7 separate regions of the Homo sapiens genome follow, and regions 2, 3, 4, 5, 6 and 7 are each linked to region 1. Evidence: promoter capture Hi-C in 16 types of primary human blood cells and fetal thymus (Javierre and others, 2016). All regions are on one chromosome and are shown on one strand. Each heading gives the region's core, a stretch centred on a gene start or on the middle of the fragment in contact. The rest is flanking DNA. Distances are from core to core; before and after follow the strand shown.

Region 1 (3,626 bases), core at 249-2,748:
CAAATATACCTCTGCGAAGTGTTAAAAATGACTACTAAAAAAGCCAACATTTAAACTGGTAAAGCATATAAAATGTACGTGACTGTGTTAATTATATTAACATAATAATGTTGAAACATTTGTTGTCCCTAGAGTTTAGCATATATTTTAATGTCTAAGAGGTTAACTGAAAGCAACAATTAAGTGTAGCATCAAAGATAAACTCTGTGTCTCCCCTCCACCAAATAAAATCCTCGGAATAGGAGGTGGAAGGAAGACTTACACTGTAGGAAAAGTTGAAAACCAAAGTTCTACTTTACTTCTCCTAAAGTGAGAACTTTGAAACGGAACCATTACTTTTGTTTCATCCCCCCGCCCAGTAAAAAATTTACATGTATGAGTCAGTTCTTCCCTCGGCCCCAACAGAAAAGATTCAGTATAACCAAGCTATAACTTGCACAAAGCAACAAGGAAAAAAAAACCTTGCTATCCCCATTACTTTCCTAATAGAGCAAGGACCCTACCACCCCTCACTCCATACTCTGCCTCTGCCCCAAGCAAGACGCAGCACCTGCCAAACCAGGCACTTAAGGAATATGGTCCAACTTTTCAAACGCAAACTGGAGAGGAGACGCAGATAATTTCTTGAAGAGTGCAAGAAGACAGCAGAAAAGGTACTCTGAGGAAGGGATGCGTGAGCTTTGGGGCTGTCCCCTCTGCCTGTTGGAGGATTCCAAATTCGCTTGCTTCAGAGACCCTTGGAAGCAGCACACTCAGGTCGCGGCCAGCCTCGGGCCTCGGTGAAGGAGGCAGTGTTTACACCTGTCACGAGGGAGGGGGAAGGAGAGCGAAGAAGCCCAAGCAAAGCCCCAAACTTCTGAACAGCTCCCTGGAGAACGCAGCCAGCGCGGAGCTTTGGGAGGTGGAAGCAAAGGGGCAGGGAGAGCCGGCGGTGGCCGGGGAGGGAAGGACTCCCACTTACCCGGCCGGTGCCCGGGATGGCGAGGAGGGGGCCGTGCGCTTCGGGCGCCACCAGCGGCGTTCCCGCACTCGCCGCAGAAGAGAGCAGAGCCGGGAGCCCGCAGGCCCGCAGAGCCAGCTCCGTCCTCACAGCTCCCGGCTCCGCGGCGGGCAGATGCTCCCGGCCCGGGTGAGGGTCTGGCTGCTGGGCCGGGCCTGGTCCCCGCACCCTCTTTCCCCGGCGCAGCTAGGGGAGCGGAGCGGCGGCGCTTACCTGGCTCCTTCGGGGCGGCTGCGATGGGCATGGCTCAGGGGCCCGGGGAGGAACTGACTCCCCGGGGAAGGACCGTCTATTCCGACGCGGAACTGGTGAGAGCGGAAGGCCGGCTGCTCACAGCCCTGTCAGCGCAGCAGCACCATGGACGCCCACCCGGAGTTTCACCGCTGCCGCGGGACCCCCATCCCACTACCCTCCGCCCTCTTCCGCCGCCGCCGCCGCCTCCTCCACCTCCTCCGCGGAGACCCCCCGCCCACTCCACACACTCTCCCATCATGCAGCGGGGGAACCGCTGCCGCCGACACGTCACTTCCGGGCGCAGGTGGCTAGGTCGGGACCGGGCGCTGGTGGGTGCTGTGGGGTGGGGGAGGACACTCCAGGGGAATTGGTGTCACAGAACGCTTATCCCTGCGCAGGCGCTGTCGTGCAGAGCGCCGACCGCCATTTTGGGTGCGGGCAAGCTGCCCTTTCCTTTTACTTCCTTGCGAGTCATAGAGCTGTAGGGGGATAGACGTCTTCCCGCACTCAGGCGCCGGTTGAGGCTGCGCTCCTGGCGAAGGACAGGTGCTCCTTTCAGCCGGTTAACGTTCAGCTCAAGACCGGATTAAGTCTCTTGCTCTCCAAATAAAATTGTAAAGGTTTGGAAATATAGAACCACATTTTTACCAAAAACCTACTAGAGAGCATTCGTCAGCTTGCCCTTTTCGCCCCGAAAAACGACTTTTTCATTCACAGCCTGTCTCTTCCTCTTTTTAAATTTATGCCGACAGAGGAAGAAGCTGATATTTAACAAATAACAAGAGGTTGCGATAAATAGAATTTAAGGTGGGAAAGCAGCCGCCAAACTGACAAATCGTCTTCGAGACCGACAAGAAAATAGTAGTCCGGAATTTGGCTAATGGATGGAGAAGGTGGTCGTTTTTCATAGACCCTTACGGAGAATATCTAGTGAAGCTAAAGAGATCACCATAAACTTATGCATTCAAACGCATTTCTGGAACAGAGGTCGTAACCGATTTTGTTTCCATCATCAGTCCTGAACAGTTGATTATTTATATAATCAACTGTTATTTATATAAAGGTAATAAAAATATTACCTTTCCTCCTCCTTTACAATGAATATCTGTTAGAACACCTGCCAGTGTAACAATCAGACTACAAGGCTACAGGATTATGATTACTGTCTCGGATGATGAGCCCGGGGTCCTACAAATCATGACCCCCGCCGGCCCCTCATTCTGCCCATATTTGCCAAACGTCTGCATCAGTAATTTGAATAATTTAAAATAGTTCCAAAACAGCAAAGCTCAGCAGTTACGCAAAGAAACAAGAATGGAAAACATCCCCTCAGGCACAGAGAAGTGTCCACCCCTTTGGGTGGAGGAATTATACAAATCAGGAGAAAGATAAGGACAATAGCAGTTCATCACGATTTATCCCGCCTCTGCAATGTTCTAGACAAATTAACTCGGAGCGCTCCAATGGACCCGCATTTGTCTCTTTACTATTCAATCGCTGTAAGATATACGGAGACTGCATCACTTTAAATGGGAGTATCAATTGCTTTGTGGTTATGCTGGATTTTGTGTTATTGCTCAGTCACTAAAGTAAGAAAAATCTATATGGCTTGTCAAATTTATGCCTATTGTATTTCGCCCCCTGCTGGTTTAGCTCGTGTGCAAGCTTGAATTTGTGTGTGTGTAGAAACTAGAAATTGATTTTAAACGAACACATGCTTGTTTTCATTTTACAGCTCTACTAAACAGAAATATCAAAATAAGAACATATGACTAGACCTTAAAGCAGACCCTACACTAAGAACATGTTTAAACTAAATGAATTTAAACTGCACTCCAGCCTGCGCGACAGAGTGAAACCCTGTCTAAAAAAAAATTAAATTAAATTGCACACCCCCCATCAGCTTACAATTTTGTAATAGGGAAATTGAGTACCTATTTGGCCAACTAACTTGTAATTGGTAATCTTACATGTAATTCCGAAGACAGTGCCCTAATGCTCATGACATTTTATTACAAAGGGAAAGTATTTGAGTGTTTTTAAGGTGATAAATCTGTGGGAAATATAAAGTCCATTTCATTTGGAGTCAATGATAGTATTGTTTTTATTTACCTTTTAAAAATTATGGCCATAACTGCATTACCTAAGATTTGGCATCAAGAAAAGAAGAAGAAAAAAATTACCAGTTAACATTTGTTGTATTTACTTCTAGTTTTTTTTTCCTGTGCGTACTTTTTACAAACTTGTAATCATAATTTAAGTAGATTTTGTGTCCCTTTTGTGTTGTAAGCATTTCCACCCATCGTTTAATGTAAAACCTTAATTTTAATTGGCTGCTTAGTAGTCAATGGAATGACCACTATATGGATAGTTTTCAGTATTATAAAATAAT
Region 2 (3,626 bases), core at 331-2,830, 700 kb before region 1:
ATAATTATTGCTTGTAAAATTGTGTAACAAATCTAATCAAGGGCAGTATTATGGCAGTAAATACCAGCTCTTTTCCCCCTCAACAATTCAGATTCCAAAGTGTTTTGTTCAAGTAAAATGAACTTTAATTCATACATCATATTTATGGGAGGGAGGGGAGAAAACTCACAAAATGTTGCAACATCAAAATGGTTAGAAATCACTATAGAAGTCATCCAGAATAAATAATATTTCCATCTTCTAATTTGCTGACTTTGCTACCCAAAATACATTTTTTTTTAATCTGGCAAGAGGGAGGTCTGAATGAAACAATTTTTTTTTTTTATAATTGAGACGGAGTTTCACTCTTGTCGCCCAGGCTGGAGTGCAGTGGCGCAATCTCGGCTCACTGCAACCTCCGCTTCCTGGCTTCAAGGGATTCTCCTGCCTCAGCCTCCCAAGTAGCTGGGATTACAGGCAAGCACCACCACGGCCGGCTAATTTTTGTATTTTTAGTAGAGACCGGGGTTTCACCACGTTGGCTGGGCTGGTCTCGAACTCCTAACCTCTGGTGATCTGCCCGCCTGGGCCTCCCAAAGTGCTGGGATTACAGAAACAATTTTCAAATAGTTTCTAAATCAGTGCTTTAGTCAGATTTTACAATTTTTGAATCTTAAAGGCTAACATTACCTGTATACTGAAACGAAGGGAAAAAAGGGGGCTGGGGGTGGGATAATCAACACTAATTAACTTCCCCTAAGGCTAGTGGAATTAACACTTGAGTCTTGCGGGATCCTAGGTCACCCAAAACCACTCAATGGAACATGCTGGTCTCCGTGGGCCTACTCCTGGGCCAAATACTAGTATGTAAAACAAAAAGTGAACGATGCGCTGCCGATCTGGACCCCTTCCCTCGAAAAAACTAATAAAAAGCCCAACAAACACAGCGAAAGGGCTGAGGTCCACACTCCATGACAGCACTTCCCTTTTTTTTTTTTTTTTTTTAAGTAAACCCGCTTCCTGCTTCTCGTTTGGTGTATCTTCAACTATACAGGAAGAGGAAGGCCTCTAGGTCTTTCTCCTTTTTACAAACCGGTGGCCCTGGGGAAAAGAGCCCTTCTCGGAACACACAAACCGAGCCTTTTACGCTTCCGTCCGCTTTAGCCCAATTGCCCCCGCATTAGCGCGGAGCAGGTCCCTGCCGGGCGGTCAGTAGGCTCCATGTCCAGTGCCGGTCTCGCCCGCCGCCCCCACCCGGAAGGGTGAGGGGGTGGCAGGCTAAATGGGTGGCAGGCTCAAGGGAGACCAGGGAACGGCCGGCTCGCTCCCACGCCCGCGGAGGTGGGAGGCACCGCCCCGCGCCCCTTCGCCCCGAGGGCCCGGAGGTGCAGCCCTGGGGGCCGAGGGCCCGTGCGCCAGCTGCTCGTCCCCGCCGGCGTCTGTGGCCGCCAAGGCCTCCTCGCGCGGCCCTTACCCCGGTGCCGTTGTCGCACACCACCACCTTCCTGCCCTGGCTGTCCATCGTCCGCCCAGGGAAGAGCCGCTGCAGCCGCACAACCTACAGCCACCGCCGCCCGGCCGTTTTCTCTTCTTCCTCTTGCGTCTTCCCGGCCCCTCCTTCGGCCCAACTTTTTTCCCCCGACCGGAAGCCGCCGCCGGGCTCCGCCCGTCATTTAGCTGAATGCCTGCACGAAAAGGGTGGGACGGGCAGGCAGCGCGACTGGCAGCGGTGAGCTCCAATAAAAGATGGAGGAGCGTCGAGGCCCCTCCCGCAGCTCCGCTTCCGGCTCGGCTGTCACGGTCGCTGCCCACCCGGGTTCTTCGCTGCTTCTAGTTCCGGGCGCTTTGCCGGGCGTTAATGGCGGCCAACATCGCCGGTGCTGCGGCTTTCTCCCTAAAGTGTCACAGGAGCTAAGGGCGCTGCTTAACGAACTGCAGAAGACGCAGGCAGGTGAAGGACACCGGTTCTGCTGCGGCAGTGGAATGTGGCGGAGAAGCTGGCGGGTAGGGCGGGGAGCAAGCCTGGAGGTCCTGGCGGACCCCACCATTCGACAGGGCTTGGTGTGTTATTGCTTCTAGGCCTTTTCAGCGGACAGAACTGGGATGGATACACACATGCTTATTTGAAATCATGCGTTTGTTCCATACTCCAATGTCAGCCCACCCCTTCTTTGCCCAAGTTGCTCTATGGTCAAGTGAGCGAGAGCAGGTGCCTGCATTTCCAGCCTCGTGGCTCACCGCCTCCTTCCAGTAGTCCCATGTTGCTTCACACCTCTTAAGTACATGTACTTCTGTGAACCCAGAGCCTTGGCTTTGAAATCAGACAACCCCAGTTTCAAACGTGGCGCTGCCACTCACGAGTTTTGTGATTTTGGCATACCCCTGTCTGCATGGGGATAATAACTTCTATCTCCATAGGTGTGGTGAGGATAAAAGTCTATGCATGGAGGAAATGTTCATTCAGTGGTAGCTATTTCTAATTCTGTTCTTCTGGACCTATGATTCTATCTACGATGCCTCATTTTTTTTCCTTTTTAATCAATTGGCAAACTTGTGCTCTGAGACCCAGCTTGTTACATCTCTGATGACAGCTGATATCCTCAGGATATTCCGTACTTCCTTTCTCCCTATTACTTTACTATGAATATATGAATAACATTGTGCTTATTGCATGCAACAAATATTTATTAGATGAATGACATTAAAATTCACCTTTAAAATGCCATCCTTTATGAGAGGTGAGAAATAGAACTTTTCCTTCGACATGGCTGTACATGTTCAACAACTAGAATAAAACAGTCATCATGAACCCTCAATCCAGTATTCTTTTTATAATATAGCTGCCTGTCAGTTTTCACTGTTCTTTTATTAGACCAGTGATTTTCAAACCTTTTTAAAGGCATACAGTGCTTTATTCAAATCTAATCTTATATGGAACCCTCAACACATAAATATTAAGATAAAAATAAAGCTGCCATTGTTGCAATTAGAAGTTTGAGAGGTTAGAATAGGTAGGAAGTCTCGGAGGAACATTTCTTCGTTTTACCTGCTTTAACAGTCAGAGAAGTACCTCAGCCAGCAGAAAAATTTATTTGTTCATAAATTCCTTGAGTATAGAGTCCGTATCTTATTTTTGTGGCCTCCAATGCTAGTGCTGTGCAGTTTTCTTGAAAGTGCATTTTATTGGTCTCAGCAAATTGAACTCAAGCATTTCTGTGTTCTTTTACTTTTCCTCTTTGTGGAATTAAGGGGATTGCTAATTTGTATTTTTAAAGAAAGAACATTATTCCGGGCGCGGTGGCTCACGCCTGTAATCCCAGCACTTGGGGAGGCCAAGGAGGGCAAATCACCTGAGATCAGGAGTTCAAGACAAGGCTGACCAACATGGCAAAACCCCGTCTCTACTAAAAATACAAAAATTAGCTGGGCGTGTTGGCACGCGCCTGTAATCCCAGCCACTCAGGAAGCTGAGGCAGGAGAATCGCTTGAACCCGGGAAGCAGAGGTTGCAGTGACAGAGATCGTGCCACTGCACTCCAGCCTGGTGAGAGCAAGACTCTGTCTCAAAAAAAAAAAAAAAAAATTGGCAAGTTTGGCCCTAAAATTTATATGAAATGAAAAGGAACCAGAATAAAAGGATTTCGAAAC
Region 3 (3,626 bases), core at 1,024-3,523, 680 kb after region 1:
GTGCCTGAGGGACAGAGACTTGGGGATGTGACCAAAGAAACGTGAACCTTTTTTTTTGACCAAGAAATATATACTAAGAACTCTCCTGCCTACCTCAATATTTTTATTAATTGAACATTTCCACCTAATAGTTTACGGTCAATATGCTTGAGGATGGAGATACCCAGCTTTCCTCTAAGGCACAATGCCTAGGATTTGGAGAAGGAGATACAAGCCAAGTATAGCAACCATCCTACTACATTCAAAACAGGTGTACACAACACTTAGGTGTAATGCCCAGATCTGCTGAACTTCAGTGCCTACCATAAGGGATATGCCAGAAATCCTAATACAGTACATCATACATAGTAAGAGCTCAAAAAAAATTTTGTTCACTGTATTCAGAAGAAAACCGTCACCAACTTGTACTCAAGTTGAGAGGTTATAAAAACTACAACCAAATTCATATTGTCCAAACGTTACCTTGCCCCACCCCGGCACTTTTTTTTTTTTTTTTTAACATAATAACACCTAGGCCTGAACATGAAACCTGGAATAGGAAAATAAAGAACTTTCATACCTGCCTTTTTTCTTTTAGTTCTGTTGATGACATGTGGTTATATTTTGGGTGGCAATGCTATCTGAAAGGCCACCATCATTTCAGGAAAGAAAAGTAAAATTGACTGGCTACCTAATATGTGCCTAGCACATCCACATAGTTCATCTCATTTCAGCCTCTCAATAACCCTGAGGCATAAGCATTACTGCCCAATTTTTATCTAAGAAGAAACTGAGGTTTGAAAGGTATGTGCCTAAGATCACCTGCTAGTAACGGTATTCAAATCTAAGTCTGTACCTTTCCATCTTTCTCAACATTTATATAATCTAAGAGGTGTTATAAAAACTACAACCAAAAATGTAAGATAAGCTACTAAATAGTAGATGGAAAATGCTAAGCTGTGGGCTTCTCATTTGTCATCCATGACAAATTCATTTAGAGTATCGTCCACTTACAAAACACTGTATTTCTCCCAAGGATATAATATTATCTTTGCCCAATGGGAACTGACAGTCTAGCTGGAGAAACAGGCCATTTCCACAGTTGTTAATGTTAGAAGCAACAAAAGATGTCGGGAAGGACTAGGGTTTTAGACACACTCATGTAAGAATTTCAGTGCTGTGCACTAGCAGCTCACACCTGTAATCCCAGTACTCTGGGAGGCTGAGGCTAGAAGATCGCTTAAGACCAGGAGTTTGAGACCAGCCTGAGAAACATAGGGAAAGCCTGTCTCTTTAAAAAAGGAGAAAAGTAGCCAGGCATGGTGGTGTGCACCTGTAGTCCCAGCTACTCAGGGGGCTGAGGTGGGAAAATTGCTTAAGCCAAGGAGATCAAGGCTGCAGTGAGCTGTGATCGCACCACTGCACTCCAGCCTGGCAACAAAGTGAGACCCTGCCTCAAAATCAATCTATCAATCAATCAGTGCTTTATACAAGCTGTGAACTTTGGACAAGATACTTAACTTTCCTCACCTGTAAGGGCAGGATAAAAAATCTACATCTCAGGACTCTTATAAAGCTTGAGAAAACCCATGAAAAAAAAAAGTTAGAAACCTAACATTTGTTAACTCTTTCCCCTATGAAGGAGCATGAACTACTAAGTGCCAGTGATTGGAAATATCAATATTTTCTGCAGCAAAGATCAAAGAATTTGATTTGCTTAAAAAAATAATCAAAACCAAAATTTCCAACCCTTACACTTGAAAGCTCTTTTGTGGAGACAGCTGTGTCATTTGCCAATTAGGTTTATCATTTACAACAGCAGCAGAGTTAAACATATAGAGGGCTCACACTGTACAAAATTTAAACAATGATAAACAGGAGCACATTCATGTCAAAAAATTTTGAGGAGGTGTCATATTCTTGTGCAAAACTGCCCATCTTAAAAGGAAAACTACCATTTAAAGTAAAAATGTATGACAACTATAGGCTATGGCATATGCCTAAGTCCCATCTACTCAGGAGGCTAACGCAGGAGGACAGCTTGAGCCCAGGGGCTTGAGGCTGTAGTGCACTATGATTGTTCCTGTGAATACCCACTGTACTCCAGCGTGGACAACACAGTAAGACCTTGACAAAAAAAGAAGAAAGAAAAAGAAAAAAGAAAAAAAGTGGCTGGCAACTAAGTGCAATCTGGTATCTTAGAGTGAATCATGGGAACTGTAATCTGAACAAAGCCTTTAGTTAACAGTAATGTACCTATGTTAATTTCTTAGTTTTGACAAATGTGCAACTTTTCTATAAATCCTGAAGTATTCCAAAATATAAAAAGTTTTTTTAAAAAAAGTGGATGACAAAGTAATGACAAACATACACAGCAACTCTTACCACTTGATTTTGAATCTTCTGAGGACAAGTTGGCATTACAGCAAAGGCTGTGAAATCAGTCAATGCTTGCCAATTCTGCAACCTATTCTAAAGCATAACTCTACATGGAACACCTTGGGTTTATTAATATTTCTAACTTTTAAAGAGAAGTAACTTGTCCACTTTTACCTAGCATATTCTTGCAAAATACCGCCTTTATGGTAACTGAATATTGTTATTACAAAACCAGTACGTTTCTAACAGTTCTGCCTTTCTATTCTTGAATAAGACATTTACTCAATCAGAACATAAGCATCTCTTACCACATATAAGGTATAACATGAATTTGAAAGTCTAATAACAAGTGACATTTCTGAGCTTAGCGCTAAAGGCAAGCATAGCGTTCGATCTGTTTCGATAATAACACAGGCAGTCGAATTCTCTTACTTTAATCTACTACACAAAATTTAAAGAAGAGTTAATAAAGCGATGTAGAACTCAGTAGGGCATTTTTATTCCCAGGGTCAAATGATGGCCATTACTGACACAACTTTTTTTTTCCAAAAGTACACCTACATTTATCAGGAAGCATAATAAGTGTTTGTGAACTTTACTAGCTGTGTGTTCATCAAGATGGCTGAAGCTTTCACACACTGGAGTCTACAAGGAAAGAGTTTACTTGCATACCAGAAGGCAAATCTCATGCTACAAACTGGTGTCAAAGGTTTATGCCAGCACCAATTTCAGTGAGTACACCGTACACACATGCATTCATATACACGTTACTGATAATCTCAGTTGAGGCATTCCCTAACCCTTTTTAAATACACATGTGGAATTTAGAGAGCAGTTTTCAAACTTCAAAGGAACCTTAATCATCTTTTCATAGTTCAAAAAAGGAAAAAATAAACACAGCAATGCAGCAAAGTCATTTCTCCAGCTGAAATGACCTCCAGCTTCTTCGGGCTACTCCCAGTTTCGCAATAAGTGAATCTGAGACGCAAACCACGTACACACAAACGAAGTAGAAGCGGAGAACACTAAAGCTTCCCCAACAGTCCCGGCAAAACCCACCCGGCTTTTCTCAGTCCTCCCGCTTCCCCAGCCCTTCCCGTCTGCGTGCACGCACAGGTACCTTGACACAGACCAGGAAAAGAGAACAAGGATTAATTAGCAGCCAAAAATCCTGTTTTATCACTTACAGCCACTATCCAGGAAAGCGACGGTACTACTAACCTGATTTCAGGGAGGCAAAACTAAACCCAGCAGGGTACAGGAGCATA
Region 4 (3,626 bases), core at 808-3,307, 600 kb before region 1:
CGGAGTAGGGGAAGACGTTTGCTCTCCCGGAACAGCCTATCTCATTCCTTTCTTTCGATTACCCGTGGCGCGGAGAGTCAGGGCGGCGGCTGCGGCAGCAAGGGCGGCGGTGGCGGCGGCGGCAGCTGCAGTGACATGTCCAGCATGAATCCCGAATAGTGAGTTCAGGAGAGCACCGGTCGGCTGGGTCCGTGGGCCAGCTTGGGGGATCTTAAAGGGGTCGAGGAGGGTTGGGGCAGAAGTCGGGGCATCGGCTGGGGTGAGGCGAGGGTGATGGGTCAGGAGAGGCTGGCGGCCGGGAGTCGGGCCCCATTGTCTGACGCGGAGGGGCGGCCGCGCGGGGGAGGGGTCGGGCCGGAGGGGTGAGCCGCCCGGGCCTGGACCGGGTCAGGTTAGAGGGCCTGACTGCGGGGCGGGTGCTGAGGAAGCCTGCCGAGGGGCCTGGGGCGGTGTGAAGGGGTATCTTCTCTCGGAGGCAGTGACTTTTGAAGGAGGACTTGTCTCTAAGGGGAGGGGATGGGGTGGGAGAGCCCTTCTAGAGGGCACTGTCAGACCCTGCGCCCGCACTCTGCGGAGCTGTCAGGATCTTCGGGGTAGAAACCAGCTTTACTTGTAAATCCTGAGCTTGTTGGCTCTCTCTCCTTCCATCCTCCCCGCCAGGTTTCAGGTAATATGGATGCTTTTCGGGACTGCGTGGGATTGAGGGGAATGAGTAGATGGTGAGAAGCAACTGAACATTTATTAGTTCTCTTTTTGAGTTGTGTCTTGGAGGAGTTGTTTAAGAGCTCGCCGGGTCCATTGCCCTCCTATAAAAACCTGGGCATTTGTGAGAATTTTGTTTTTTTTTTTTTTAAAGAGGACACCTAAGTCATTTTGTCTTCTGTGGGTCAAGGGAAAAAAAAAAAACTAAAGCCAAGAAATGTCTTTTTGATACTCGCAGATTAAAGGAAGCTTGCTGTCAAGTTGAAAGAGAAACGAACGGGACCTATGATAGATCTGTATGTAGGTTTTGGATTACCTGCTTGGATGCTTGCAGATAGGGAATGAGGTTCCATGACGTGTCATGAAAAGTTAATGCATTTCTTTTTCTTGCTTACTCAAGAAGTCACCACAGCAGATGTGACACACCTGGCACCTTTCCTGGGAACTGGTGTTCACTTCCCTTGGGTAGAGTTTGTTGGGCTCTCCTCAATGGCCCTTTAAAAATTTCCTCTACAGTTTACATGCATGTAAAGTAATGAATAATTGGAAGAGACCGAATTGGTATTCCTTTTCAGTGTCAAAGGCCTTTGAGGGATGGGGGAACATCAGTATTTGTTGTAAAAGTTGAGTTTATTTGCTGGTTTGGTCAATTACTGCTAGACATTTTCCCCTAAAAGGTCCACCCACCAGTTTAGCTGACTGTCATATGTGTGTCACATGGCTCTTGCAAAATGCTTACAAGTTTTGTAATAGTGTGGCTTGAAGCTGAAATCTTTTGCACTAAACAGAAACCGTAGTATTTTATTAGAATTTCATGTTTTAGAAGTTGAGGGTAGTGTTCTTGTAGTGACATTTGCTGTGTTGACAGTTTAAAAAAAATTTTTTTTCAAGGGCTCCAAGGACAAAGTTGGTTTTGCACAGTTGAACGGAGGTGAACTTGAGGTTCTTAATTTAGTAGTTTTCTTGGTAACAATAAAGAACATGGATTTACTGCTTTATCGAGGTTTATAGACCTCTACTGTTCAGGAAATTTTCTGAATTTGCTATATATATGTTTATTAGTGTAAATAAATCTTCAAGATTAGTTGAGAACTTTGACAAGTTACTCAGCCTCTGAATTTTTTTTCCCTTTTGTAAAATAGGATAATTGGAGTCATTATTCCTGTCAGGGTAGTGGTGAAATTCAAATGTATATAAAAGAATTTGAAAAACCGTGTGAGCATTCTTCAGGTGGTATGCATCATTTTCATGAAAGGCATTCTATTAGTACCAGGATTTAGGAATATAATCCTTGCGCTTAAGAAGTTTAGATATAGGCCAGGCGCGGTGGCTCACCTCAGTAATCCCAGCACTTTGGGAGGCCGAGGCGGGCGGATCCCGAGGTCAGGAGATCGAGACCATCCTCGGTAACACGGTGAAACCCCGTCTCTACTAAAAATGCAAAAAAATTAGCCGGGCGTGGTGGTGGGCACCTGTAGTCCCAGCTACTCGAGAGGCTGAGGCAGGAGAATGGCGTGATCCCGGGAGGTGGAGCTTGCAGTGAACCAAGATCTGGCCACTGCACTCCAGCCTGGACGACAGAGCAAGACTCCGTCTCAAAAAAAAAATTATTTATTGTTTTGAGACGGAGTTTCAATCTTGTTGCCCAGGCTGGAGTGCAATGGCGCAAATCTCCTCTCACCGCCACCTCCGCCTCCTGGGTTCAAGTGATTCTCCTGCCTCAGATTCCCGAGAAGTTGGGATTACAGGCATGTGCCACCACTCCCGGCTAATTTTGTATTTTTGGTAGAGACGGGGTTTCTCCATGTTGGTCAGGCTGGTCTCAAACTCCCGAAGTGATCCGCCCGCCTCAGCTTCCCAAAGTGTTGGGATTACAGGCGTGAGCCACCGCGCCCGGCAGAAATAGATTTTATACATGTCAAATACCAGTAGATATAGCAAATTCCAGATGTGTGGCATGGATGAGAGCAACAAGATTTCAGGGGGATGGTGGGTTGTGGTTGGCTATCTGGGTTTTGGAAGACTTTATAGAAGAGAGACCTGAAAGGGATTTATCAGCAATTAGATTTGGAGGAACAGAGGGAGTGACTAGGAATTTTCAAGGGGGAGAAGAAGGAGGAATGGCTCATAAATGACAAGGACAGTAATTAATAAGTAAATACGGTGTCAAATCATCCTTTCTTTTGAAGACTAATGACCTCAAAGGGATCAAACCCAGAAACAGTTTTTATATTTTTTCTGGGATCAAATACATGGGTATCTGGCCTACTATATTTGTATTCTAGACTGTTTAGTAAAATAATACAGGAATTTGAGAAAACCTTTGCAAAAGTGTTAGTGAAAATTACTTAGGGTGAGAGGAAGTGAGGGATATTTTATTAGGGGAGGTCACAAGGGCAGTGAGCAATCAGATTTTTAGTAATCTGACTTAAGCAGTTTCTTTTTGTTTTAATGAAGCTTGTTATCTTTATAAAAGTAATTAGAGAAAATTTGGAAAATAAAGGAAAGAAAGAAAAGTTCTTTAGTGTTTTATCACGCAAATACAAGCTCATTCGTTTTTAACATCTTGTTCCAAACTCCAAAGTCTTGCTTTCTCTTCAATTAAAACTTTAATGGGTGGATGCTTTTCCTGCTTCCAGTATGTTATCTTAATAACTAACAATGGTATATTAGCTAATGTTTACAAATGTACTCCAGATGTTCCTTAAGTTACTTTGGTTTATCATTACCAATTTATATTGTTTCTTTTAGAAATTTATAATCTTTGTTAATGGGTTCTGCTAAATTTGGTAGTGAAAATGGGATCTTGAGAAAAAAGATTCTGAAGCAACAGAATTTTTAGATTTATATTGGTTTACATAAGAGTTGGTAGCTGTATTACTTTTTTTGTTTGTTTTGTTTTTTTTTTGAGACGGAATCTTGCT
Region 5 (3,626 bases), core at 578-3,077, 540 kb before region 1:
AATATTTACTACTAGATACTCCCACAAAATCAGGGAACCAGCCTTACTAGTTTTGTGTATGACCCTTGTTTCCTGATGCAAATATCTATGTTCATCCTTCCCCCACTTTTGTTCCCCCAGAAACTGAGTCTTGCTCCATCACCCAGGCTAGATAGAGTTCAGCGGTGTGATCTCAGCTCACTGCAACCTCCACCTCCCGGGTTCAAGCGATTCTCCTACCTCAGCCTCCCGGCTAGCTGGGACTACAGGCGTGCGCCACCATGCCTGGCTAATTTTTTTATATTTTTAGTAGAGATGGGGTTTCACCATGTTAGCCAGGCTGGTCTTGAACTCCTGACCTCAGGCAATCCACCCACCTCCCAAAGTGCTGGGATTATAGGCATAAGCCACTGTACCAGGCTTATCCTTCCCTCCCTTTTTTTTTTTACATAAAAGTAGCAAACTGTATAGGTCATACTATTCAGAACCTTGGTTTTCTTTTCTCTACAAAAAATATCTAGGGGCTCATTCCTAAGCAATACAGCAGGTCCTTCAGTAACATCACTTGGTACGATATCTTTTTTTTTTTTGAGACAGAGTCTCACTCTGTTGCCCAGGCTGGAGTGCACTGGTGCGATCTCAGTTCACTGCAACCTCCGCCTCCCTGGTTCAAGCAATTCTCCTGCCTCAGCCTCCCAAGCAGCTGGGATTACAGGCATGTGCCACCATGCCCAGCTAATTTTTTTTTGTGTGTGTATATATATATATATATATATATTTTTTTTTTTTTTTTTTTTGAGACAGAGTCTCACTCTGTCTTCCAGGCTGGTGTGCAGTGGTGTGATCTCGGCTCACTGCAACCTCTGCCTCCTGGGTTCAAGCAATTCTCTGCCTCAGCCTCCCGAGTAGCTGGGATTACAGGCACCCACCACCACACCTGGCTAATTTTTATATTTTTAGTAGAGATGGGGTTTCACCATCCTGGCCAGGCTGGTCTTGAAATTCTGACCTTATGATCCACCCGCCTCAGCCTCCCAAAGTGCTGGGATTACAGGCGTGAGCCACCGTGCCTGGCCAATTTTTGTATTTTTAATAGAGACGGGGTTTCGCCATCTTGGCCAGGCTGGTCTTGAACTTCTGACCTCGTGATCCACCCGCCTCAGCCTCCCAAAGTGCTAGGATTACAGGTGTAAGCCACACCGCCCAGCCGGTCCAATGTCTTTTCATTATATCATTGATAAGAAACCCTGATTCCTGACTGAGGTCACTGTCTGTATGGAGTGTGCACATTCTCCCCATGTCTGCCTGGATGATATCCAGTTCATCTGGATACTCGGGTTTCCTCCCACATCCTGAAAACATATACTTAGGTGAATGGGGCTGACTACATGGTCCTGGTCTGAGTGTGGGTAGATGAGTGAGCGTGCCCTGCCATGGGATGAAGTCCTGCCCATGATTGGTTCCCTCCTTACACCCTCAGCTGCTGGGACAGGCTCCAGCTACCTGCGAACTTGAACCCATTTGAGTAAGCAGGTAAATCATAATCTTGTGTTTTTTTTTTTTTTTTTAAGATGAAGTCTCGGTTTGTCACCTAGGCTGGAGTGCAGTGGCGTGATCTTGGCTCACTGCAACCTCCGGCCCCTGGCTTCAAGCAATTCTCCTGCTTCAGCCTTCTGAGTAGCTGGGACTACAGACACTCACCACCATGCCTGACTAATTTTTGTATGGGGTTTCACCATGTTGGCCAGGCTGATCTGGAACTCCTGACCTCAAATGATCCGCCCTAGTTGGCCTCCCAAAGTGCTGGGATTACAGGCATGAGCCACCACGCCTGGCTCATCTTACTTGTTTTTATTCATCTTTCATAAATGTATGTACAGCTCACATTTATTTCACTATTTAATTTAAAAGTGTTTTAGTCTTTACTTAGAAGTTTGGTGATGCTTTCATGACCAGAAATATGCCATAGGAGCTTAACTCTTATTTATATCAATTAGACTATGGTAAAATTGGTTTCGTTATATGTCCTTTCAAGTGGCAGAGTCACGGTTTCCAAGAACTTACTGACGACATCAAGTGAGGACTTACCGTACAAAGACAGCTTCCTCTTTTTCATTACTGACCAGTACTGTATTCTGGTGTAAGGACGCACTAGTTTATTTCACCAGTCCCTTATTAGTGGACATTTGGGTTATTTCTAGTCTTTTTTGCTAGTCCAAACAATGCTATGATGAGTCACTATGCACACACATTTGTGCTGGCACATCCTCAGCATGAATTGCAGAAGTAGAGCTGCTGAGGCGAAGGGTGCTTTTGCACACACTGCCAAGTGGCCCTCTGCTGAGTGGTATCACTCTACACTCCACCAGCACATGTGAGGGCCAGTTCCCACGGGAGCCAGGGTCTTTAATCCTCACGTCACAGATGGGGAAACGAAGCCTCTGAGTGAGACAAGTCCAGGACTGCCCAACTCCAGAGCCCAAGCTGTTTATGAGCCAACTGGGGAATAAGTGATCAAACAGTTAAGCCACAAAGCAGAAGAGAGAGAAGACTGGTGGAGGGACAAAGAGAAGAGTGACAAATCTTGCTGAGACAGAGATCTTACGGAGCCACATCCTCACCTTGTGGCTCATTAAGAAACTGCACATGAAGACGTTTACAGGCAAGTTTTGTTTTCATAAGTAGGGGAACAGCTGCGCCCGTGAGCTAGAAAAACCAGGGTGAAGGCTGGGTATAGCCCATAATTCCCAATTGCTACTTCTTGCTCCATTTCTTTTTTTTTTTTTTTTTGAGACGGAGTCTCGCTTTTTCGCCAAGGCTGGACTGCAGTGGCGCTATCTCAGCTCACTGCAAGCTCCACCTCCCGGGTTCACGCCATTCTCCTGCCTCAGCCTCCCGAGTAGCTGGGACTACAGGCGCCCACCACCGCACCCAGCTAATTTTTTGTATTTTTAGTAGAGATGGGGTTTCACCACATTAGCCAGGATGGTCTCGATCTCCTGACATCGTGATCTGCCTGCCTCGGCCTCCCAAAGTGCTGGGATTACAGGTGTGAGCCACCACGCCCGGCCTCTTGCTCGATTTCTAAAAACTCTCTCAATGGCTAGAGATTCCCCACACCTCTCACTAAAGGGTGCGATCTTGAGACAAGGTGCTGGAATAAGATGATGATGGGGCAAGGGAGGGGTGCAAACAAATTATCCCTTTGTTTTGATCATGTACTTTTTATTCATCTTGTCTGGACCTCATTATTCAAAAAAGAAGGTATCTATTTAGCCTGGAGAGATAGGGAGTGGTGAGCTATTACAAACTATTCAGTTGACATCCCTAAGTAACTTACAAGGATACACACAAACCTAAACTAGGTTAGTAGTGTGGCCAAAGTCCCTTCAGCAACCAGGTAAGAAGATCTGAAATTCAATGATTTTCAAGGAAATTGTACGTCTGTAAAGACGGAATGAAGGTAGTTACTTTCTTAGACTGGATAAACAGTCCCTTCATAATCTTATTAATCTGCCTGACAAATCATGCTTTTCCCCCCTATTATACAAGTTTATTATGAGAACCAAGACAGACACATGTGAAAGAAAATAAAAACCAATCTATAATGCATTCAAAACTGTCTATGAAATGTTACCAAAATGCAA
Region 6 (3,626 bases), core at 765-3,264, 520 kb after region 1:
TAAAATGACTGAGTATCCAAGCCATTTTCTTAATAGACTATCTCATACTCTTAATTTGTCTCATTGTTTCCTCATATATGGTGGTTTAAACCTTACTATCCTACTTCCTTCTATTTACTGTAAACTCAAAGGTAGGTCTAGAGCAAGGGTGCTGAACCTTGAGTTCACAGACTCTTGTAGGGTCTGTAGAATTCAGGGAATCTGTGAACTTTAGATGGGGAAAAAATTACATCTTTATTTTAACTTATTCCCTAACTCAGTGGTTCTCAACCGGGGTGAGTTTGTCTTCTCCTTCCCCAACCCTAGGACATTTTTGATTGTCACAGCTGGGTGGGTACAAGATAGTCCCTGATAACAGAATTATCCCTTTCAAAATGTCAGTAGTGTCAAAGTTGAAAAACTCTGCCCTAACTGGATTTTAGCATTTCCTTTAATTAGGAATATAAGAAACGCTTCATGGATACAGTATGGACAGTACATTTACAGTACCTGTAGCTTTGTCACCAATAGAAATCTCAGGTATTCTCATATCACATTCAATTGCTACAGATATCTTAAGATTTAATTTATGCTCATTTATTGCCTATAAGGTAGTTACTAGATTCGTATTAAGAAGCAATAGTAGGCTGGGCGCGGTGGCTCACGCCTGTAATCCCAGCACTTTGGGAGGCCGAGGCGGGCGGATCACAAGGTCAGGAGATCGAGACCATCTTGGCTAACACGGTGAAACCCCGTCTCTACTAAAAATACAAAAAATTAGCCGGGCGCGGTGGCGGGCACCTGTAGTCCCAGCTACTCGGGAGGCTGAGGCAGGAGAATGGCGTGAACCTGGGAGGCGGAGCTTGCAGTGAGCCGAGATTGTGCCACTGCAATCTGGCCTGGGCTAAAGAGCGGGACTCCGTCTCAAAAAAAAAAAAAAAAAAAAAAAAAAAAAAAAGAAGCAATAGTAGACTGGGCATGGTAGCTCATGCCTGTAATACCAGCACTCTGGGAGGCTGATGTGGGAGGACTGCCTGAGCCCAGGAGTTCAGGACCAGCCTGGACAACATAGTGAGACCTCGTCTCTACAAAAATACAAAAATTAGCCAGGTGTGGTAGTGTGCACCTGTGGTCCCAGCTACTCAGGAGGCTGAGGTGGGAGGATCGCTTGCACCCAGGAGGTTGAGATTGCAGTGAGCTGTGATTATGTCACTGCACTCCAGCCTGGGTGACAGTGAGAGCCTGTCTCAAAAAGAAGAAATAATACTATGTTATAATTTAAACAGTTATTATTGTAGCTGTAGTTCAGTATAATTGTCCATTGTAGTGTTGTGTGTTTTATGCATTTAAAAACATTATTCTAAGAAGGTATCCATAAACTTCGCCAGACTGTAAAAGAAATCCACAGGACAATAAAGCTTAACTCCTGATCTAGAGATTGGATTGGATTGGATTGGATTAAACATTTTTGAAGAGACTATTTCATAGGTAATGATGTTTATTTCCTATTTTGTCATTTCATGAATTACATAATATCAGGTTGTCCTCCTGTTATCAGTAATGTTAACTTTAATGACTTATGTAAGGTGGTGACAGCCAGGTCTCCATTTTAAAGATACATTTTCCCCTTTGTGTTGCTAAGTAATCTGTGAGGTAATACTTAGGCGCCATGAGAATATAATGTTTTTAACAACTTTTCACCTAATGGCCTTAGCATACTTTGGTGATTTTTGCCTGAATTAGCTTTTACATTGGGGGTTGCAAATTGGTGATTTTCTAATTTGGTTATTCCTTTTATATTTATTACTGGCATTCTTCAGTAGAGATTTTCTTTCCCCACCCCCTTTCCTTATCTTTTTTTTTCTCCCTTAAGTATCTCTATGTATCCATTAATTTTTACTTATTCCATATGTTATACTCTATTACTTTTAAAAAAATATGCTCAAGTTGTCCCAAATGTGGCCAGTGGGAACCCCCTTTTAACTTGGTCCTTTGTCCTCTTGATAGGTCCTGCTGGTCTTTGAGCATATCTTGCTTTCTGACACAAGAGTGCTCAGGGTAGACTTATTCTTTCTGTATTCCATGTCTGGAGTTACATATTCTTTCAAAGAGTCCTGGTTCTTTTAGTTGGAAGTGGTATTTAGAAACAGAAGTCTGGGCACCACGTGTGTTCATTGCTTGGTGGGGTTCTGGCTGGTGGTTGGGGTTGGGGGAGGCAATGCTTCTAGTGCCTTTCAAAAGAAGTTTTTAACTGAACATAAAAAGATATTTTGAGCTATAAGAAAGAAAATCAAATCTCTATTTACTCATCCTTGGAAATCCTTTTTTTTTGGAATGGATGATTGTTTTTTCTTTTCCTTATTAGCCCAGACCCATTCTGTTATTACTTAAGTATTATTGGCAGCTGTCTGTCTGTTTTGTCTGTCTGTTCTGATATGTTCTACATACCATCCATTTCATTCATCTATAAAATTTTTATTATATGTATGACAGGAACTGTGATAAGCAAATAGAATACACAGAAAAACAGAAACATCAAGAAATGCAAAGCCTGATAGGGAAGAACTGTATGAAAAGCAAAACCTCAGTATGATTGATGCAAAAATTGAAATACATAGAGTGACTAAGTGTGAGAAACCAAAGAAAGCTTCAAGAGAGAATAATATTTGAACATAGTATTCATACAATTATAAGGAGATTACCATGTGAAAAAGGTAGAGCTATTTATAGATTCTCATTACAATTGTTAAAATGCCAAATTTGTTTCTAGATGGTAGTTAACTTGAACTATCAGAAATCAGTAGTTCCCTGTGTTTAGTGCTTAGAGCTTTCCGTTTTCCTGTATTTTGTGTATTTTGTTTGCTTGTTTGTTTTTTCGAACTGATTTTTTTTCTGAGTAGACAAACTATCATTGCTTATCCTGAAACCTTCTTAAGGTTTCTCATCATTTTTGTTCTTTAGCCTTTCAATGAAAGATTATTTCTTTGCTGAAATTTTGTGATTCAGATGCCATGTACATTTGTTGTATTTGTCTGTACATCTACATCTTATGAATAAATCCATGTTTTCTTACCAGTGATTGTACTTTTATAATTATGTGATGATCAGTACAAAGTTTGGTTCTTACTGTAGGGAGATCTTTTTAATAATAAGCTGTGGATGGTGAAGGCAGTGAAGAGTCAAATGTTTGGAAACTGGGACTCATCTTTATAGGCAGTCCACTAGTTTTATGTAATCCCCTTTTACTAGAGATCTTCCCTCTTGTTATAAGAATTAAGAGTGGTATAGGAAAAAAGAGAATGTGCATATGTTTTCCAAGTCAAAATCTTTAAAGAGTAAACCATGTGTTTTTCTCCTCAGATACAGAAATAACTTAGAAGAATCTAGAAATATTTTTCTGCCATCTCCCTGCATATTTCTAGGTTTCTAAAATGGCACTTAGGATTTTTTTTCTGTAAAAACAGCATGGTAAATAGAATAAATCAAGATATCAACATAGTATTGTCAGAATGAATATCTAATTTATCTGACATTAAGCAATGGATGTTTAACATAAATACATTTTCCACATGTCTGTGGCTTAACACTTCATGTCAAAATGTATTTATTTTAGATTTGGGGGTACAGAGCAAGATGGTGGACTAGAA
Region 7 (3,626 bases), core at 530-3,029, 520 kb before region 1:
AGTTTCTTTTAGGGGTAATGAACTAAATTTGATTGTTCTAAAATTGACTGTGATGATGCTTGCACAACTCTGAATAAACTAAAACCATAGAACTGTGTACTGTAAATGGGTGAACTGTATGGTAGGGAAATTAGATCTCAATAAAGCTGTTTTTTTTAAAAAAAAGATATAGAAGTCAACTTGAAGGACTTTTTTTTTTTTTTCTTTTTTTTTTTTTGAAACAGAGTCTTGCTCTTTCTCCCAGGCTGGAGTGCAGTGGCATGATCTCAGCTGACTGCAACCTCTGCCTCCCAGGTTCAAGTGATTCTCCTGCCTCAGCCTGCTGAGTTATAGGTACTTGCCACCACACCCGGCTAATTTTTTTTTTTTTTTTCCAGTAGAGACAGGGTTTCACCATGTTGGCCAGGCTGGTCTCAAACTCTTGACCTCTGGTGATCCATCTGCCTCAGCCTCCCAAAATGCTGGGATTATAGGCATGAGCTACCACACCTGGCCTTGAAGGACTTTTTCATTGGCCAAATTTGGGACAATCTGCAAATAAAAAATAATGTTAATTACGATTTAATTACATTTTAAGTATAATTGTATTTAAGTATATTTGAGATAATTATATACTTAAATGTATAATTAACTTCAACATAATTAGGTATATAGTTAAGTATATATGCTTAATATATGATTATATTTAAAATATGTTTATATATTAAATATATTAACAAGTATATTAATATATAGTACTATATAATAAATATGTTTAACATAATATATAAATATATAATAAATGTATTAAATGTTAATGTAAAATAAATATTTGTAATCTATAATTATAATTGATTATAATATAATAATTTTTTGAAAATCATGGTCCATAGTCAATCTCAAACAAAACATAAGAAAACAAAGAGAGAAAAAGAAAAGCTCATCTTTACAGAGTGATAACTGTAAGAGGAATGTTAGATTAGACAATTACCCTTTTGGAAACTCAAATGTAATAATTAACCAATTAACCAAGATAAGGATTACTAATGAATGCTAAAACTATTGGGAAAAAAGTTTCTGGGAACAAGGTATTCACACAGACTCCCAAGTATTGCCCCACTGATTATTTACTAATTACAAAAGGGAAATTATGCATTTATAATGGAAAGATCAAACAATTACCACCATAACCAAGTGATCAAACATCACCAATAATGGGACTACCAGACATGTGCCTCCTAAGTAGAATTCTTTCCAAAAATATTTAACCTAACTTCCTGCTTACAGGAAATACAGTAGATACTGGTATAAGATGAACACCATTAGGAAGTAATCATCTCCAGAATATGGGATATTATGTAGCTGCACCAGACCAGTTTGGTTCAACTTTTATGTAACAAAAGTTATGAGTTGTTTTTCAGTTGCTAATGGAGCTTCAGGTCATGTAACCTGAGCAGGCCCAGGTGAACCAAGTGTGTAGCCACAGGGGGGAACCTAAGTGCTCAGAGGAGCAGGGACTGAATTAGGAAGTTGACACTGCATGGCTGGATCTACGATGCAATCAGATTGAGCTCTGGCATCACTCATTAGCAGGATCCAGTGAGATCATGCCTCTTGGCATTACCTCATTGCAAGATCCAGTCAGATCATGCCTCATTACCCTATGCTTATAAAACCTGACACAGCCTGGAGCTCAGGGAGGCATTGCTTTGGGAGCTATCTATACCCAGTGTTCTTTTTACTAGTTGTAAGTAATAAAATCCTCTTGTTAAATCCTCCTTGGTTGTGGCCATTGGTTGTTACTTACCAAGTGACCTAGCCCACCTGTTGTGTGGGCAACAGTTGTACAAAACAATTGGCCTGAACTCTTCAAAAATGTCAACAGTATGGAAAAAAATACCCAGTAATAAATGGTATTGGAAGGAATGGTTCTAGATTAAAAGAGACTAAATAGATAATAACCAAAAACAATACAGGAAACTTGAGTGGATAGTGGAGCAGGAAAAAAAAGAGCTATAAAAGGTATTTGGGGGATAACTGGAGAGAGTTGAATTTGGGCTGATATTAGATGATATTATAGCACAATTGTTAAATTTGAGGGGCGGTGATGGCATTGTGGTTATGTGGAAAAATATTTTTATTCTTAGGAGATACATGCTGCAGTAATTAGAGGTGAAATGTTATAATATCTTTGTATTAGTCTGTTTTCACACTGCTGATAAAGACATACCTGAGACTGGGTAATTTACAAAAGAAAGAAGTTTAATGGACTTACAGTTCCACGTGGCTGGGGAGGCCTCACAATCATGGTGGAAGGTGAAAGGCACGTCTCACATGGCAGCAGACAAGAGGAGAGAACTTGTGCAGGGAAACTCCCCTCTTTAAAACCGTCAGATCTTGTGAGACGTATTCACTACCACAAGAACAGCATGGGAAAAACCTGCCCCCATGATTCAATTACCTCCCACAGGTTCTTCCCACAACTTGTGGGAATTCAAGATGAGATTTCGGTGGGGACACAGCCAAACCATATCAATCTTTAACTTAATTTTGGTTGTTTAACAAACAAAACTGTATATCTGTATTTGTAGCTATCTATCTAAGGGGGAGCACGTGCAAATGTGATAAAATGTTAGTAATTGATGAATCTGTAGTTGGCAGACTCTAAGTTGGCACTCAGTGAATTCTGACCTTCCCTCCTGGAATTCACACCTTGTGTAATCCTTTTCCCTTGAGTAAGGGCTGGGTTTAGAGACTGGCTTCTAGCAAACAGCATGTGGGAGGTTCCTTCCATAATTGAATTCTCTCTCCTTCAATTGCTCAGATGGAGATGGGCTGCCATGTTGTGAGCTGCCCCATGGGGAAGAGGCTCACATGTGAGGAACTGAGGGAGGCCTCCAGAAAACAGCCAGTGAAGAACTGAGACCCTCAGTCCAATAGCCTATGAGGAACTGAATCCTGCTGACAACCATATGAATGAGCTTGGAAGCAGATCCTTCCCCAGTGAAGCCTTCATGTGAGACTGCAGCCCACTTGACACTTTGATTTGTAGCTTGTGACAGACCCCAAGCCAGAAGAGTCAGGTAAGCAGTGCCTGCACTCCTGACCCATGGCAACTGGCATGATAAATGTTTTTTCCCATGAAGCTATGTTTTAGAGTAATTTGTTTTGCAGCAATAGATAACTAATTCACTAGGTAAAGGTTATATCCATTGTAATCTTTCAACTTTTCTGTAGATTTGCAGTTTTATGTGCTGACAGGTGAACACACTGCTGTTGGCACCATGGCCACTGCATACTACGTGCTGTCATGCTAACATTTGATGCTGCAGCAGTAAGTTATTTCTCAATTGATTCTGAGTCTCTGGTTCACTAGCAGGATCATGTGCCCAAGCTCCAGCTTCCAAGGTGTGAGGCCAGAAAGTACCTGACCCTCTCAGCTTCCACAGTGGGAATTGTGGCCCTGTCTCTCAAATAGGGAGGTATTCAGACACTGAGTAGATGAAAAAAAAAAAAGAAAAGAAAAAAAAAGGTGGGGGGGGGCGGTTGGTAAGAAAAGAAAAAGGAAAAGAGGGGGGAGAAAGTGAAAAGAAGAGAAACATCTGCTATACTTTGTTCTACTCCTCTACTCCCAACTGCCCAGAAAG

What was found. The method cuts DNA at HindIII sites, captures the fragments that hold promoters and counts their contacts. A CHiCAGO score of 5 or more calls a contact.
Region 2: a contact is called between the fragment with the promoter of ACTR2 here and the fragment with the promoter of AFTPH in region 1, in 4 of 17 cell types (non-activated CD4 T cells, total CD8 T cells, fetal thymus and 1 more). The highest score is 8.0, in non-activated CD4 T cells.
Region 3: a contact is called between a fragment that was not itself captured here and the fragment with the promoter of AFTPH in region 1, in 1 of 17 cell types (fetal thymus). The highest score is 5.8, in fetal thymus.
Region 4: a fragment that was not itself captured here is called in contact with the fragment with the promoter of AFTPH in region 1 in 7 of 17 cell types (fetal thymus, total CD8 T cells, total B cells and 4 more); the score reaches 8.1 in fetal thymus.
Region 5: a contact is called between a fragment that was not itself captured here and the fragment with the promoter of AFTPH in region 1, in 1 of 17 cell types (naive CD8 T cells). The highest score is 5.1, in naive CD8 T cells.
Region 6: a contact is called between a fragment that was not itself captured here and the fragment with the promoter of AFTPH in region 1, in 5 of 17 cell types (activated CD4 T cells, neutrophils, total CD8 T cells and 2 more). The highest score is 8.2, in activated CD4 T cells.
Region 7: a fragment that was not itself captured here is called in contact with the fragment with the promoter of AFTPH in region 1 in 3 of 17 cell types (total B cells, total CD8 T cells and neutrophils); the score reaches 7.5 in total B cells.

The regions. Positions count from the first base shown.
Region 1 is chr2:64,522,200-64,525,825 of GRCh38, reverse strand. AFTPH (aftiphilin) reads right to left here and starts at 1,498. Exons shown (of 10, transcript NM_203437.4): 1 at 1,214-1,498. It overlaps AFTPH-DT (AFTPH divergent transcript), which reads left to right and starts at 1,671. Exons shown (of 1, transcript NR_136167.1): 1 at 1,671-3,626. It overlaps MIR4434 (microRNA 4434), which reads right to left and starts at 313; the gene lies at 261-313. RefSeq lists enhancers at 619-1,119, 1,120-1,620, 1,722-1,941 and silencers at 992-1,241, 1,252-1,331, 1,362-1,521. The HindIII fragment of the contact is 6,179 bases long and covers 1-2,901 here.
Region 2 is chr2:65,225,785-65,229,410 of GRCh38, reverse strand. ACTR2 (actin related protein 2) reads right to left here and starts at 1,580. Exons shown (of 9, transcript NM_005722.4): 1 at 1,454-1,580. The coding sequence starts at 1,501. It overlaps LOC124907779 (a long non-coding RNA gene), which reads left to right and starts at 1,812. Exons shown (of 2, transcript XR_007086461.1): 1 at 1,812-1,930. RefSeq lists enhancers at 649-738, 811-1,699, 1,700-2,589 and a silencer at 1,239-1,428. The HindIII fragment of the contact is 6,982 bases long and covers 1-3,626 here.
Region 3 is chr2:63,842,391-63,846,016 of GRCh38, reverse strand. All of the region lies in intron 1 of UGP2 (UDP-glucose pyrophosphorylase 2), which reads right to left. Among named protein-coding and RNA genes, the nearest start is that of UGP2, 2.3 kb to the right of the region's middle. The HindIII fragment of the contact is 1,431 bases long and covers 1,558-2,988 here.
Region 4 is chr2:65,126,425-65,130,050 of GRCh38, reverse strand. It overlaps RAB1A (RAB1A, member RAS oncogene family), which reads left to right. Exons shown (of 6, transcript NM_004161.5): 1 at 1-158. The coding sequence starts at 136. Among named protein-coding and RNA genes, the nearest start is that of RAB1A, 1.9 kb to the left of the region's middle. RefSeq lists enhancers at 1-162, 1-166, 163-677, 2,201-2,740 and a silencer at 297-346. The HindIII fragment of the contact is 2,208 bases long and covers 954-3,161 here.
Region 5 is chr2:65,063,877-65,067,502 of GRCh38, reverse strand. All of the region lies in intron 1 of CEP68 (centrosomal protein 68), which reads right to left. Among named protein-coding and RNA genes, the nearest start is that of CEP68, 9.3 kb to the right of the region's middle. The HindIII fragment of the contact is 4,853 bases long and covers 1-3,626 here.
Region 6 is chr2:64,002,401-64,006,026 of GRCh38, reverse strand. All of the region lies in intron 1 of VPS54 (VPS54 subunit of GARP complex), which reads left to right. Among named protein-coding and RNA genes, the nearest start is that of VPS54, 15 kb to the left of the region's middle. The HindIII fragment of the contact is 1,229 bases long and covers 1,400-2,628 here.
Region 7 is chr2:65,047,390-65,051,015 of GRCh38, reverse strand. All of the region lies in intron 2 of LINC02576 (long intergenic non-protein coding RNA 2576), which reads right to left. Among named protein-coding and RNA genes, the nearest start is that of CEP68, 7.2 kb to the left of the region's middle. RefSeq lists a silencer at 375-547. The HindIII fragment of the contact is 8,739 bases long and covers 1-3,626 here.